4 separate regions of the Homo sapiens genome follow, and regions 1, 2 and 4 are each linked to region 3. The links are contacts of gene promoters, found by promoter capture Hi-C in blood cells and fetal thymus (Javierre and others, 2016). All regions are on one chromosome and are shown on one strand. Each heading gives the region's core, a stretch centred on a gene start or on the middle of the fragment in contact. The rest is flanking DNA. Distances are from core to core; before and after follow the strand shown.

Region 1 (2,912 bases), core at 67-2,566, 280 kb after region 3:
GTTTTCAGGATTGAAATAAATCCAGGGAAGAAGATGGTATGTTACCACTGGAACTGCATTCTCGTTCATATCTCTTGTCCTCACGTCCTGAAGCACATTCCATGTAATGCATGATAGCCTGTGGCCAGCTGCTGGCTAGAAAGCAGGACCCTGCAGTTCTATTTCTGACTCCGTCTGGGCTTTTGATGAGACCAGGTGGGAGAAGGAGAGTAGTGTAACAAAGAACCTCAGAGTAGGCCTTGGTAATGAGCAGTTACCTAACCTCACTGAGCCTCAGTTTCCTCATCCATGACAAGAAGGGGTAAATGACCTCAATAGTTCCTGCCTTATTAAAAAACTTTGAGTCTTTGGTATTTTGATGATATGAATGAGTTCCTCATCGAGAACCTCACTTGTTCCAGGAAGTTTGAGAATGCACCACTCCATGCGCTGTCTTTGAATCGCTGTGCCCTACCCAGCACCCGTTTGTGCTTGAAAAGAGCACAGGCATGGGTTCTTTTGCTGATAGCAGATTTCTCTCCAGACTAGAGATTTTCTTAGTCTACCCTACTTAGTAAGACTTTATGATGGGTAAACCTGTGCTGACCAGTGGCCAAGTCCCAGCAAACACAACTTCATAGTAACAAAGCTTAAAGACGGGAGTCTGAGTGCGAGACTAGGGATCAGAAGGATTCAATTCATTCATTCAATTCATCATCCATTCAATTCAGCTTCTCCTGTTTAAAACTAGGCCCCTGGCACTTGCTGAGCATGGTTCTTTATTGGACCATCCATTTGAACTGGGGAAGGGACTGAGAATCTTGGTTACCTCTCTTGGCAGGTCATCAGTTCTTGTTCCATTCAATGCAGAATTTTAGCAACAAAAGGCGAAGAGGATGAGTAAGTTATTAAAGCTGGGAAACTGCCTATAATAGGTTATTTTTAGAATAAAGATTCAAGATGACCTACAAGCTCTGTGAGACCACAGGACAAAGGTGTCAAAGAAAAGAGACTGGGATAGGCTCAGACATTTATCTTCCAGCAAAATTAATTTCCTTGAGGGCTTGTGGTTCACTAACTGAATCTGTGAACCAGCTGTATTTAGGGTGCATTCTACTTCCTTGGGTCTCTAAAATTGACAATGGTCTATAGGTCAGGTTCCAACGGAAGTGATATTTCTGACCTAGCTCTATAAATAGAGCACTGGAAAAAACCCATCAGCTGCAATGGCTCAGGGACCACACGCTATCTATTAAGTAAGCAACCGCAGTATTTGTGCTACCATTTTAGATACGAAAAAATATATCTTTTGTTATTTATAATCTTCTGAGCTTTGAGATTCTCAAAATACTTTAAAGCTATTAGTCGTCTTTCAGATTTATAAATACAGGATCTGAGGCATAAAACTATGTAATAACTGCTTCAACTAATACCATTTACCCACCGAGGAAGGCATTTGGCTGGTAAAGAATGGGCTGCTTCACTTTAGTAAAGCAGAAAATTTCATTCCTGATGTCTCTTGGCTGGAGGTGAAAGGAGTGAATGCAGTCCAGAGGCTTTACTTGCACAACATACCTAGGCTGATGCAAGTCTCAGCAAACTCGTTACTGAGAAAGGTAAGAAATGTGAAGCAGAAGACAGGAAGAAGTGAGGCAATCAGAACCTCTGGAATGCAAGAGTTAGGGATGGATCCTCCATAGCACAAGGTAGGGGAGAAGCGGGGGTGAGCCATCCACTAGGCTAGAGACTGGTATGCACCAGCACAAATCACTCAACAACTCCACTGGCTCATGGACAGGGAGAAAATACCTTCAGTTTCCCAGAGTCTTAACAAAATACTTTAAGTTCTTATCCAACCAGGACATTTTTGAAAATGAAATGGGGACATTTTAATAGTTATACTGGGATAACAGAGATAAACTGAGCTTGCCCTGAGAAAACCAAGACATATGTTATCCTACAGAGATACTATGTAGGAACTGTCCAGAATCACAGTGAGCATGCTCACTTTATACGAAAAGCTTCAGTCTGTACTAGGATTCTCTGCTGTGTCTGCAGTGTCGATCATCAAGGTCTCAAAGATGGCAAGGAAAACAATAGTAGGCATAAGAAGAACAGAACTAGATTGTCTGAATAAAAAGAAGCAATCTCCTCCCATCAGCTCAACTCCCAACATTCTCCAGGAGGCCATGCCCCTGAACCTTTTCTCCAATACAGCTTTCCCCTTGCTACCTTCTACTTAAGGAAAGGAAAAAAAAAATCCTGAATGGTGACTTGTAGTGAAATCTCTTGACCTTTGCAAATAAGTTTTTAATTAAAAATAAATTCACTCATTACAGAAAACACATATTACCCTTAAGTAAATACTAGCAAAATAAAACAAAGAAAACAAAAACCTAACCATTTAAAGAAATCTGTGGCACTTTCTCTTTAAATTTAGCTTCATTCAAGACAAGCCAGAAAGATGCTTGCATAAAATATGTTTTTTTTCCCCCACAGTGTGTTCTATCTGTTCACCATGAAATCCTCAGACCACACCTTTCAGCTGTCCTGGTATGAGCTTTGCTTTCCTGCTCCCATTGTAGAGTCAGAGGCAGCAGGCGGATACCAGAGTTGAATTCTAATAAGTCTTGTGTATTATACATGGTCACCATCTCATTTTTTGACCACTTGATGTTTGTTTCAGATGGCACTGGCTGAGGCAGAATGAATACAGCTGCTGATTCTGATCTCACACTGGGTATATCCCTGAGTGCTGGAAAAAACATCACCCTCAGAAGTGTGCATTCAGCCAGCTGCCTTTGGAGAGAGCTGGGAAGGGTGCAAAGTGGCATGTCCTTTACCAGTCACTCTTTCTGGGTAAGATTCAAACTACAGTGAAGTAACATTTGGTCGCTTTACATATCCAACGAAGTACTTTGGGACAAGGAGAA
Region 2 (3,239 bases), core at 144-2,643, 260 kb after region 3:
GTTTTCGTGAGGCTTGAAAAAGAAAATGCCCACAAAGCACTTAGCAGAATAACTGGTACAAAGTAGACTCTCAATAAATGGATGAATCAACTCAGCATAGCAACCAGAGAGCCAGGGCCGCTGGGGCTTTGGGGGGATTGTTTTCAATCCCTCCCAGACATACCAGGTGCCTTAGCTCTAATTCTTTAAGGTTTGTAAAGATGAGCCTCTTTCTGGAGTTTGACTCTCAGAGAATTCTGTTAGAGAATCACAGATCATAATCCCAGTTCACTCTTTCATTGCCAATTCTGAGTTGAGGATTCAGAAAATGGGCAGTGGGATACAACCATGGGAGCTGGGCTCTCCAAAGGTGTTCTCAAAATCATGGTCCCTTTGTAACAATAAAATGAATGTCCAACAGTCAAGCACACACAGTCTTTGTCTGAGATGCAAGAACTCTTAAGCTCTGCCAAGGTAAGAAGAGAAACTTCTAGAAAGAGACCCTCAGTGAAAAAAAACCTCGGCTTCAAGCATTCTAAGACAGTTGCCAGGAGCCACTGGCTGATTTAAAAATCCAGGGAAGCTTGGGGGCAGGGAGGGGACAACAAGGTAAGGTGAAGGTTACAGGAAGGAAGGAGTGACTATGTCAACTTTGCAGTAACTGAAAATTCCAAATTATTTACAGCGGCAGAAATCAGGAAAGCTCAATGATTTGTATTACATTTGAAAATTAATCACCCATCAGATAATGTGTAGCATATCATAAAATGTTATGGTAACATAATCAGACTAACATAAAGTCAAACAGAATGCTAGAGACTTATTTGATTCATTTCTCCTCAAACCTCCACAATGTAAACCTTTTGTCTGCTTCCCATTCCTCTACCCCTAATTTTTTTTTTTTTTTTTTTGAGATGGAGACTCGCCATGTCACCCAGGCTGGAGTGCAGTGGTGCGATCTTGGCTCACTGCAACTTCCACCTCCCGGGTTCAAGCAATTCCCTGCCTCAGCCTCCCAAGTAGCTGGGATTACAGGTGTCTGCCACCATACTTGGCTAATTTTTGTATTTTTAGTAGAGACGGGGTTTCACCACCTTGGCCAGGCTGGGCTCAAACTCCTGACCTCGTGATCCACCTGCCTCGGCCTCCCAAAGTGCTGGGATTACAGGCGTGAGCTGCCGCACCCAACCTCCTCTACCCCTAATTTTATAAGCTATTAAGAATTTGGGTGCTCTGCGGACGCCACCGCTGAGGAAAACCGTGTACTATTAGCCATGGTCAACCCCACCATGTTCTTTGAATTTGCCGTCGACAGCGAGCCCTTGGGCCATGTCTCCTTCGAGCTGTTTGCAGACAAGATCCCAAAGACAGCAGAAAATTTTCGTGCTCCGAGCACTGGAGAGAAAGGATTTGGTTATAAGGTTTCCTGCTTTCACAGAATTATTCCAGGGTTTATGTGTCAGGGTGGTGACTGTGAAGTCACCATAATGGCACTGGTGGCAAGTCCATCTACACGGAGAAATTTGAAAATGAGAACTTCATCCTAAAGCATACAGGTCCTGGCATCTTGTCCATGGCAAATGCTGGACCCAACACAAATGGTTCCCAGTTTTTCATCTGCACTGCCAAGACTGAGTGGTTGGATGGCAAGCACGTGCTCTTTGGCAAAGTGAAAGAAGGCACGAATATTGTGGAGGCATGGAGTGCTTTGGGTCCAGGAATGGCAAGACCAGCAAGAAGATCACCATTGCTGACTGTGGACAACTCGAATAAGTTTGACTTGTGTTTTATCTTAACCACCAGACCATTCCTTCCGTAGCTCAGGAGAGCACCCCTCCACCCCGTTTGCTCGCAGTATCCTAGAATCTTTGTGCTCTCGCTGCAGTTCCCTTTGGGTTCCATGTTTTCCTTGTTCCCTCCCATGCCTAGATGGATTGCAGAGTTAAGTTTATGATTATGAAATAAAAACTAAATAACAACAACAAAAAAGAAAGAATTTGGAAGGGCCTGAGGTCCCCCCACTCCACTCATTGCACCCATCAGTGACATCAAGAAAGGACTTGAAATGAAAACTAGCATTGTACCATGCTGTGCACCTCACAGCCACAGCCACCCCAGGAGATAAGCAGAGGCCACAGGCTCAGGCGGCGTAGCATCTCACAGCAGGGATACTCCCCCAGCAACAGCAGCCAGAAGACGAATGCTCCAAGCTGGACCTGCTTTAGCCACATGTGTGATAAGCTTTCAAATCTCACACACACAAGCAGAGGAAGGGGCACTTCAGAATCACAGGAAAATGCCAGGAGTATTTCAAAGTCAAATAATGCCTAGAGCAAGAGAAAAAAAGCAAGAAGAAGCTCCTCATCTCACTGCTTTCATGTTCCTGCCCCAGGGTGGGAGGGGCTATCCTAATACATAACTCACTAAGTTTTACAGGTAAACCAAATGACATTCTAGGTCTAATCATCGTTCAGGAAAGTCAGAGAGGAAGATAATAAGGACCATTCATTGCAACCCAGCAGAATCATCACCAAGTCAAGGCCTCCTTTTCTAGCACCTCATTTTATTCCTAAATTAAAACAGTGATAACTGTCAGAGGCATTTGAACCAGAGTGACTCTGTCTTGAAAACAAGCTGTAAAAATAAGGCTGAGACCTATTGGTCTGTATTCCCAGGAGGTTAGGCATTCCAAGTCACAGCATGAGATAGGAGGTCAGAAAAGATACAGGTCACAAAGACATTGCTGATAAAGCAGGTTGCAGTAAAGAAGTTGGCCAAAGCCCACCAATCCAAGATGATGATGAACATGATCTCTGGTGTCCTCACTGCTCATTATACGCTAATTATAATGCATTAGCATGTTAAAAGACACTCCCACCAACATCATGACAGTTTACAAATGGCATGACAACATCAGGAAGTTACCGTATATGGTCTAAAAAGGGGAGGAACGCCCAGTTCTGGGAATTGCCCACCTCTTTACAGGAAAACTCATGAATAATCCACTTCTTGTTTAGCATATAATAAAAAAAAAACCCATAAAAATAGCGAGCCAGCAGCTCTTCGGGTTGCTGTGCTGTGGAGTAGCCATACTTTATTCCTTTACTTTCTTAATAAACTTGCTTTCACTTTATGAACTCTGGCACAAAGTAGACTCTTTATGGACTCACCCCAAATTCTTTCTTGCATGAGGTCCAAGAACCCTCTCTTGGGGTCTGGATTGAGATCCCTTTCCGGTAACACAACCACCATCTTACATC
Region 3 (2,919 bases), core at 176-2,675:
GAACCCTGCGTGACTCCACGTATGCAAGGTACTTAGAGTAGTCAAAATCATAAAGATGAAAAGGAGAATGGTAGTTGCCAGGGGCTGTGAGGAGGGGAAAGAGGAGTCAGTGTTTAATGGGCACAGAGTTTCAGTTTGGAAAGATGAAAAAGTTCTGGAGAGAGATGACGGGGAAGCTTATACAACGATGTGAATGTACTTAATGCCACTGAATTGTACACTTAAACATGGGTAAAATGGTAGCTTTTACGTTAGGTATATTTTACCAGGATAAAAAGTTTTTTGTGTTTGAAAATATACCCTCTAATAGACTCAGAGTTGCTGACAGGCCCTCTCCATGGGTTGATGTAACCGTCTCCTTACCTCAAGACGAGGTTGACCCATCCAAGATTGGAGGGAACTTATCCTATTTTCAGATTATTTCCAGGGAAGGGAGCCCATGACATTATTAGGCAATCTTTTCCAGTGTCTCAAAACCCCAGACATTCTGGGTACCAGACCTTTCCTGCTGCACCTGAAGTTGATTTTCCTTGGTCAGTAAGTGCTTTGTCAGGCCACAGACTTTTCATGCACTCAAAGGCTCTAGTTACACCATCCCTAGCGTAGATCTGATGGTGCCAAGTAACAAGCCAGCAAGTGGACTTTGGAGGCCCAGCAAGCCTCCCTGTCTCACAGGCTTCTCATCAGTATAATGGATAAACAGTGCGAGGCTTGGATTCCTAAGCAGTCCTGGGACACAGGCCCCGCCAGGCCCTGGCAGGTGAAGAGCCTACCATTTCTCACTTCATTTAGGATGTATAATAGTTTGTTGGACGCTAGAACTGTACCCTTTCAGATCTGTGTCTTTACTTTTCAGCTGGAGGCCTCTTGCTGACAGGGTAGCGTTTCCCAAAGACACGGGAGCTGAGCTGGTGAGTCATTTCAACAGCCCTTACACTCTCCTCTGACCAGAGACCACATGACATATTAATCAGCTGCTTGAAAGGTATACCTGGCAGGCATGTTTCCTGCAGCCTGGAAGATGCTGACCTCGTCAGCTTTGAAACATCAAAGGGCTAACAAGAGAACAACAGGCTGAGAAAGACCTCATCACCTGGGTGCCTGTTGACCGCAGCCTTGTAAGGCCCAACACAGCTGAGATGTGCTGTCTGGAGCTCGGAGGAAGTGGAGCTTTTTCTGCTGTGAGGACCCGCCTTCAGCCCCCTTTTGGGGCACAGGAAGGGGAGGGAGTGAGCCTAAATTGTGGCCCCATGCTTAGTGACTCAGATGTTACTGCTACCACAAAGGGAAATTCATGTGGGGGTGGACATCTCCAGAGACCTCACTCACCTGTGATTTGGGGGATAATAGCATCACTCATGTGTTCACGTGCCAGGCCTGTCACCCCGGAACATTAGTCAAAGGGCTGTGTTGACAGTGATTTCAACTCTTGAATTATACGAAGGACCTGGCCGCAAGAAGGCATTGAGCCCCGAGGAGGACAACAGGCCTCAGGTACTTCATGTGATTAAAGCTGAGACAAGGGGAGTCCCATGGGTCAGTCCTGTAACTGGGGTCTGATATACACTAGTGATAGGCATTAGCATAGTTTGCACATTATATGATAGTCTTGGTCCTTTTCATTTCCTGATAAGCTGGAATGTCTGACAGAGTAAATTCCAGATGCCCTTGTGGAATTCTCATTACGATCATGTTGCTAAGGAACTGTCTTCTACCTGTATGCAATTTGGAAATACTATTAATAGTATTAACATGGAGTTTTGCAGTGTGTGGGTTTATTTCTTATTGTATTTATAATCACCCCCACCACTACCTTCCCACCGCTGGCTCACCATCTGAGGAGCTGGCATCAGGAAACTCAAGAAAGAAGGAAGGAAGGAAGGAAGGAAGGAAGGAAGGAAGGAAAGAAGGAAGGAAGGAAGGGAAAGGTTGTCCAGGCTTCACAGGAAGAACTGCATTTGTATTATTCTGTATTGAATTCTCAGGACCTCCACATTGCAGGCATCTAGAGGCTCCAATTAATAGTTGATAAATCTTGAAGGGAGGAAAAAATAGTCACAGAAAGTTCACTTGAGTGACCTGAAATTCTATAGCAATTTAGCCAGGGAGCCGGGAGGAGAATATGCCCTTCCAACTTGCAGGCCAGCTCTCTGCAGGAAGCCAGGCAGCTCTCCCAGGGGAAGCAGTGGCCAGGGCAAGCATGGGTCTTGAAGCTCAGGACTGGCTTTAGGACTCTGGCTCAGACAAGATGGGTGGCTCAAAGGTATTGAAGGGCTAGGTAGGGCCCTGAAAATTGGGCCTTTCTGCAGCAATCATCAGGGAGACTAATGGTCCTGGGCTAGGGAAGGAGTCTTCTTGGCCCAGAATGGCCAAGCAGCCAAATATTAGAGCACCTCCAGGGAGGTGTCCCTGGAAAGGGTCCTCCCCCAGTCAGCTCCTGCGGAGTGCAGGCAGGTTTGGGGGTCTCTCCTCTAGGAGAGATCCAGGGAGCTTGAGAGCAAAAGTGACAATGTGCCTGCCTTCTTCCTTCTCTGTAGGGCTCTGTTCTCTTTCTTCTTTTTTGAGGCAGGATCTTTTGCTTTATTGTCCAGGTTGGAGTGCAGTGGCATGATCACGGCTCACTGCAGCCTCAGCCTCCTGGGCTCAAGCAATCCTCCCACCTCAGCTTCCTGAGTAGCTGAGACCATGCCTGGCTAATTTTTAAGTTTTTTTGTAGAGACGAGGTCTCATTGTGTTGCCCAGGCTGGTCTTGAACTCCTGGGCTCAAGCAATTCTCCCACCTCAGCCTCCCAAAGCACTGGGATTATAGGCGTGAGCCACTGTGTCTGGCCTGCTCTCTTTCTTAAGGAGAAGGCTTCTGTTATTTTTTGGTCAATTGGGTGCAGAAAGCCTGTTCCCCATGGACAACCCTTGAGGGGG
Region 4 (3,192 bases), core at 376-2,875, 310 kb after region 3:
GGAAATAGTAAATTAGCAAATAATGGGGACACACATACAAAGCCACTCTCAAAGAAGATAGTTTGATTTAATTACTATAGTACTACTTGCACTTATTTTCATTTACTTGTGAGATTCACAGAGATAGAAAAGCTTGGCATGTCTCTCCCAGAGGCAGGCTGGCCCAGCTTTTTCTGTCCCTTACTGTGTTGCTTGGAGACACTTACCACACTAAGTAAATCATCACCCTACATCCATACTATGCTTCTTTCATATTTGTGAAAGAGCTCTTCACTCACATATGCATGTACTACAGATCCAACAGTGAGTGCTAGGGAAGGAGAATGTTGATTAGAGAACTTCCCAGATGGTATTTATGTATTATGTTCTCTCACATATATTTGAATTCTACTCAAATGCTGTTAGTTTTCTAGGGTTAATTGAAAATCTGATATTCTAAGATCCTTGTTTGGTGTTCTGGTAACTAGAAAGTTAAAAAGTTGGGCTTATGAGTATACCTTTACTTTTCTTCTGGAGTCCCCAAAAGAGCCAAACAGAACTTTCTTCCCTCTTTAAAGTGGTGACATAAGTTTTTAATGACCCTCTTTTCTGTTTCTCTCCAGGAATCCTGCTGTGATGTACTCCATTCTTAGGGTAATGAATTTGCTTTTGTATCTCTTGAAGCAGTCTTGCTTCAGCCTAAGGCCAGCCCATACACTTGGACGAGCATCTCAATCCCTTCTAATACCTTTGAGGTCTTTTACCAATGGTTACCTATCCTTTCCTCTCCAGCATTACTACATGTTCTCTTTTTGCTGCATTATGTACATCAATATCAAAATGCGAAATAAAAAACACCCACCTTAAAAAAAAAACCTCCTTTGACTTCCCCAGCTACCACTCCATTTCACTGTTTCCATTTGTAGTGAAAAACCTTAAAGAATTGAACATGCTCTTTGTTTTTCTCTTTAACCTACCCCAGGCAGGCTTATGTCCCCTACACTCTACTGAAATCACTCTTGTCAAGGTCACCATTGATTGTATCTGCCAAATCCAAGGGTCAATTCTCAGTCCTCATCTTATTGGACCTCTTAGCAGCACTGGACCTAACTCCTTGCTTCTTGAAATATTAGCTTCACTTGGCTTCCAGAAAAAGCACACTCTCATGGATTTCTTCCCACCTGATCCTCTCCTCCCTGCCAGTCTCCTTTGCAGGTTTCTCTTCTATTCTAAATGTTGATGTATCCCCAGGATCAATCTCTGCCATATTCTCACTACAGCTCAGCCCATTCTCCTGAGCTCTAGACTCAGACTCATTTATTCAGCTGCTTTGTCATTGTCCACTTGCATATCTTTCTCTTCTTATTTATTTATTTTTTGAGACAGGGTCTCACACTATGGCCTAGGTTGGAGTGCAGTGGCACAATCAGGGCTCACTGTAGCCTTGGCCTTCCAGGCCCAAGCCATTCTCCCACCTCAGCCCCCCAAGTAGCTGGGACTACAGGTGCACACCACCAGGCCTGGTTAATTTTGTTTATTTTTTTTGTAGAGACAGGGTCTCACTGTGTTTGTTGCCCAGGTAACTGGTCTTGAATTCCTAGGCTTAAGCAATCCTGCTGCCTCAGCCTCCCAAAGTGCTGGAAGCCACCACGCCCGGTCACTTACATATCTCAAATGCAACTATTCTAGGACAGAACCCCTTTTTTTTTTCTTCAGATGGAGTCTCATTGTGTCGCCAGGCTGAAATGCAGTGGCGTGATCTCAGCTCACTGCAACCTCCGCCTCCCGCGTTCAAGCAATTCTTCTGCCTCAGCCTCCCAAGTAGCTAGGACTACAGGCATGCACCACCACGCCCAGCTAATTTTTGGTATTTTTAGTAGAGACGGGGTTTCACCACGTTGGCCAGGATGGTCTCCATCTCTTGACCTTGTGATCTGCCTACCTCAGCCTCCCAAAGTGCTGGGATTACAGGCGTAAGCCACCACACCCGGCCCTCTAGGACAGAACTCTTAATCCCCTAACCTGCACCTCCCACCCCAATCTGTTCTCTTCAACATTCTAGATTTTTTTGGCCTAAATAACTCTAGGAATGGAAAAAATGACACCATTCTCAGTTGTTTAAGATAAAAAATACACAGATAATTCTTTTTTTTTAATTTTCTTTTCTTTTTTTCTTTTTTTTTTTTTTTTTTTGAGACAGAGTCTTGCTCTGTTGCCCAGGCTGGAGTGCAGCAGCACAGTCTTGGCTCACTGCAGCCTCCACCTCCCAGGTTCAAGTGATTCTCCAGCCTCCACTTCCTGAGCAGCTGGGACTACAGGTGTGTGCCACCACGTCCGGCTAATTTTTTTTTGTATTTTTAGTAGAGATGGGGTTTCACCATATTGGGTCGAACTCCTGACCTCGTGATCTGCTCGCCTCAGCCTCCCAAAGTGCTGGGATTACAGGCATGAGCCACTGCGCCCGGCCAATTCTTCATTTTTTAAAATACACTTCACATTCAATCTGTTTGCAGATTTTGTAAGGAATGTCTTCATATTTATCTTGAATCTGACCACTTGCCATCCCCTATACCACACCCCCCAGTCTGAGCCACCATAATCTCTCTCCTGGATTAGTGTTATGTTTGCTGACTTGTCTCCTGGCTTTCATGTGGCCCCCTTACAGTCTATACTCCTACAGAGCAGGCCAAGTAATCTTCCTAAACTGTCAGTCAAGTCATGTCCATCCCTGGCTGAAAACTTTGCATTATGCTTAGGATAAAATCCAAGTTCTTTACCTAGTTTTACATACCCTAGCCCTCTCCAGTCAACTTACAGGCCTTACTAGGTTGTTGTGAATATAAAACTACGTACACAAAGGAACTTTAAAATTATTAGGTGCCATAAATAGATGTTATTGTTGTTGCTATCATTATTATTGGATCAGTTGCCCTTTGGTAAAGAGTTTTAAACATGTCTTCTAAATGTAAACTGTAATTTCTGCCAATGGCTATATGTGATTACAGACAGATCTTGTAACAGGCAAATCCCTTCCTTCTTGTTAACCCATTTATGCCAGAGGTTGCAAAATTTTTATGTGAAAAATCAGACCTTGGTGATGAGCTTAAGCATGAGGATATAAATAACTCCCACAAGCTTAGTGTTCCACTAATGGAACACTAGGCATAAATGGGTTAATAGGTTCAGTCATTATCCTCCTGCTATATATTTAAC

What was found. The method cuts DNA at HindIII sites, captures the fragments that hold promoters and counts their contacts. A CHiCAGO score of 5 or more calls a contact.
Region 1: a contact is called between a fragment that was not itself captured here and the fragment with the promoter of RAD51B-AS1 in region 3, in 6 of 17 cell types (M0 macrophages, M2 macrophages, total B cells and 3 more). The highest score is 8.3, in M0 macrophages.
Region 2: a fragment that was not itself captured here is called in contact with the fragment with the promoter of RAD51B-AS1 in region 3 in 1 of 17 cell types (non-activated CD4 T cells); the score reaches 5.7 in non-activated CD4 T cells.
Region 4: a contact is called between a fragment that was not itself captured here and the fragment with the promoter of RAD51B-AS1 in region 3, in 7 of 17 cell types (M0 macrophages, non-activated CD4 T cells, total B cells and 4 more). The highest score is 7.6, in M0 macrophages.

The regions. Positions count from the first base shown.
Region 1 is chr14:68,400,225-68,403,136 of GRCh38, reverse strand. All of the region lies in intron 8 of RAD51B (RAD51 paralog B), which reads right to left. LOC101927971 (a long non-coding RNA gene) reads left to right here. Exons shown (of 4, transcript XR_245776.5): 2 at 2,666-2,838. Among named protein-coding and RNA genes, the nearest start is that of RAD51B-AS1, 280 kb to the left of the region's middle. The HindIII fragment of the contact is 1,372 bases long and covers 631-2,002 here.
Region 2 is chr14:68,420,211-68,423,449 of GRCh38, reverse strand. The region is part of intron 9 of RAD51B (RAD51 paralog B); the gene reads right to left. It also overlaps the pseudogene PPIAP6. Among named protein-coding and RNA genes, the nearest start is that of RAD51B-AS1, 260 kb to the left of the region's middle. The HindIII fragment of the contact is 1,658 bases long and covers 565-2,222 here.
Region 3 is chr14:68,683,946-68,686,864 of GRCh38, reverse strand. It overlaps RAD51B-AS1 (RAD51B antisense RNA 1), which reads left to right and starts at 1,425. Exons shown (of 4, transcript XR_007064220.1): 1 at 1,425-1,494. RefSeq lists enhancers at 1,088-1,137, 2,721-2,919. The HindIII fragment of the contact is 3,133 bases long and covers 179-2,919 here.
Region 4 is chr14:68,370,017-68,373,208 of GRCh38, reverse strand. The region is part of intron 8 of RAD51B (RAD51 paralog B); the gene reads right to left. Among named protein-coding and RNA genes, the nearest start is that of RAD51B-AS1, 310 kb to the left of the region's middle. RefSeq lists an enhancer at 171-1,026. The HindIII fragment of the contact is 2,982 bases long and covers 135-3,116 here.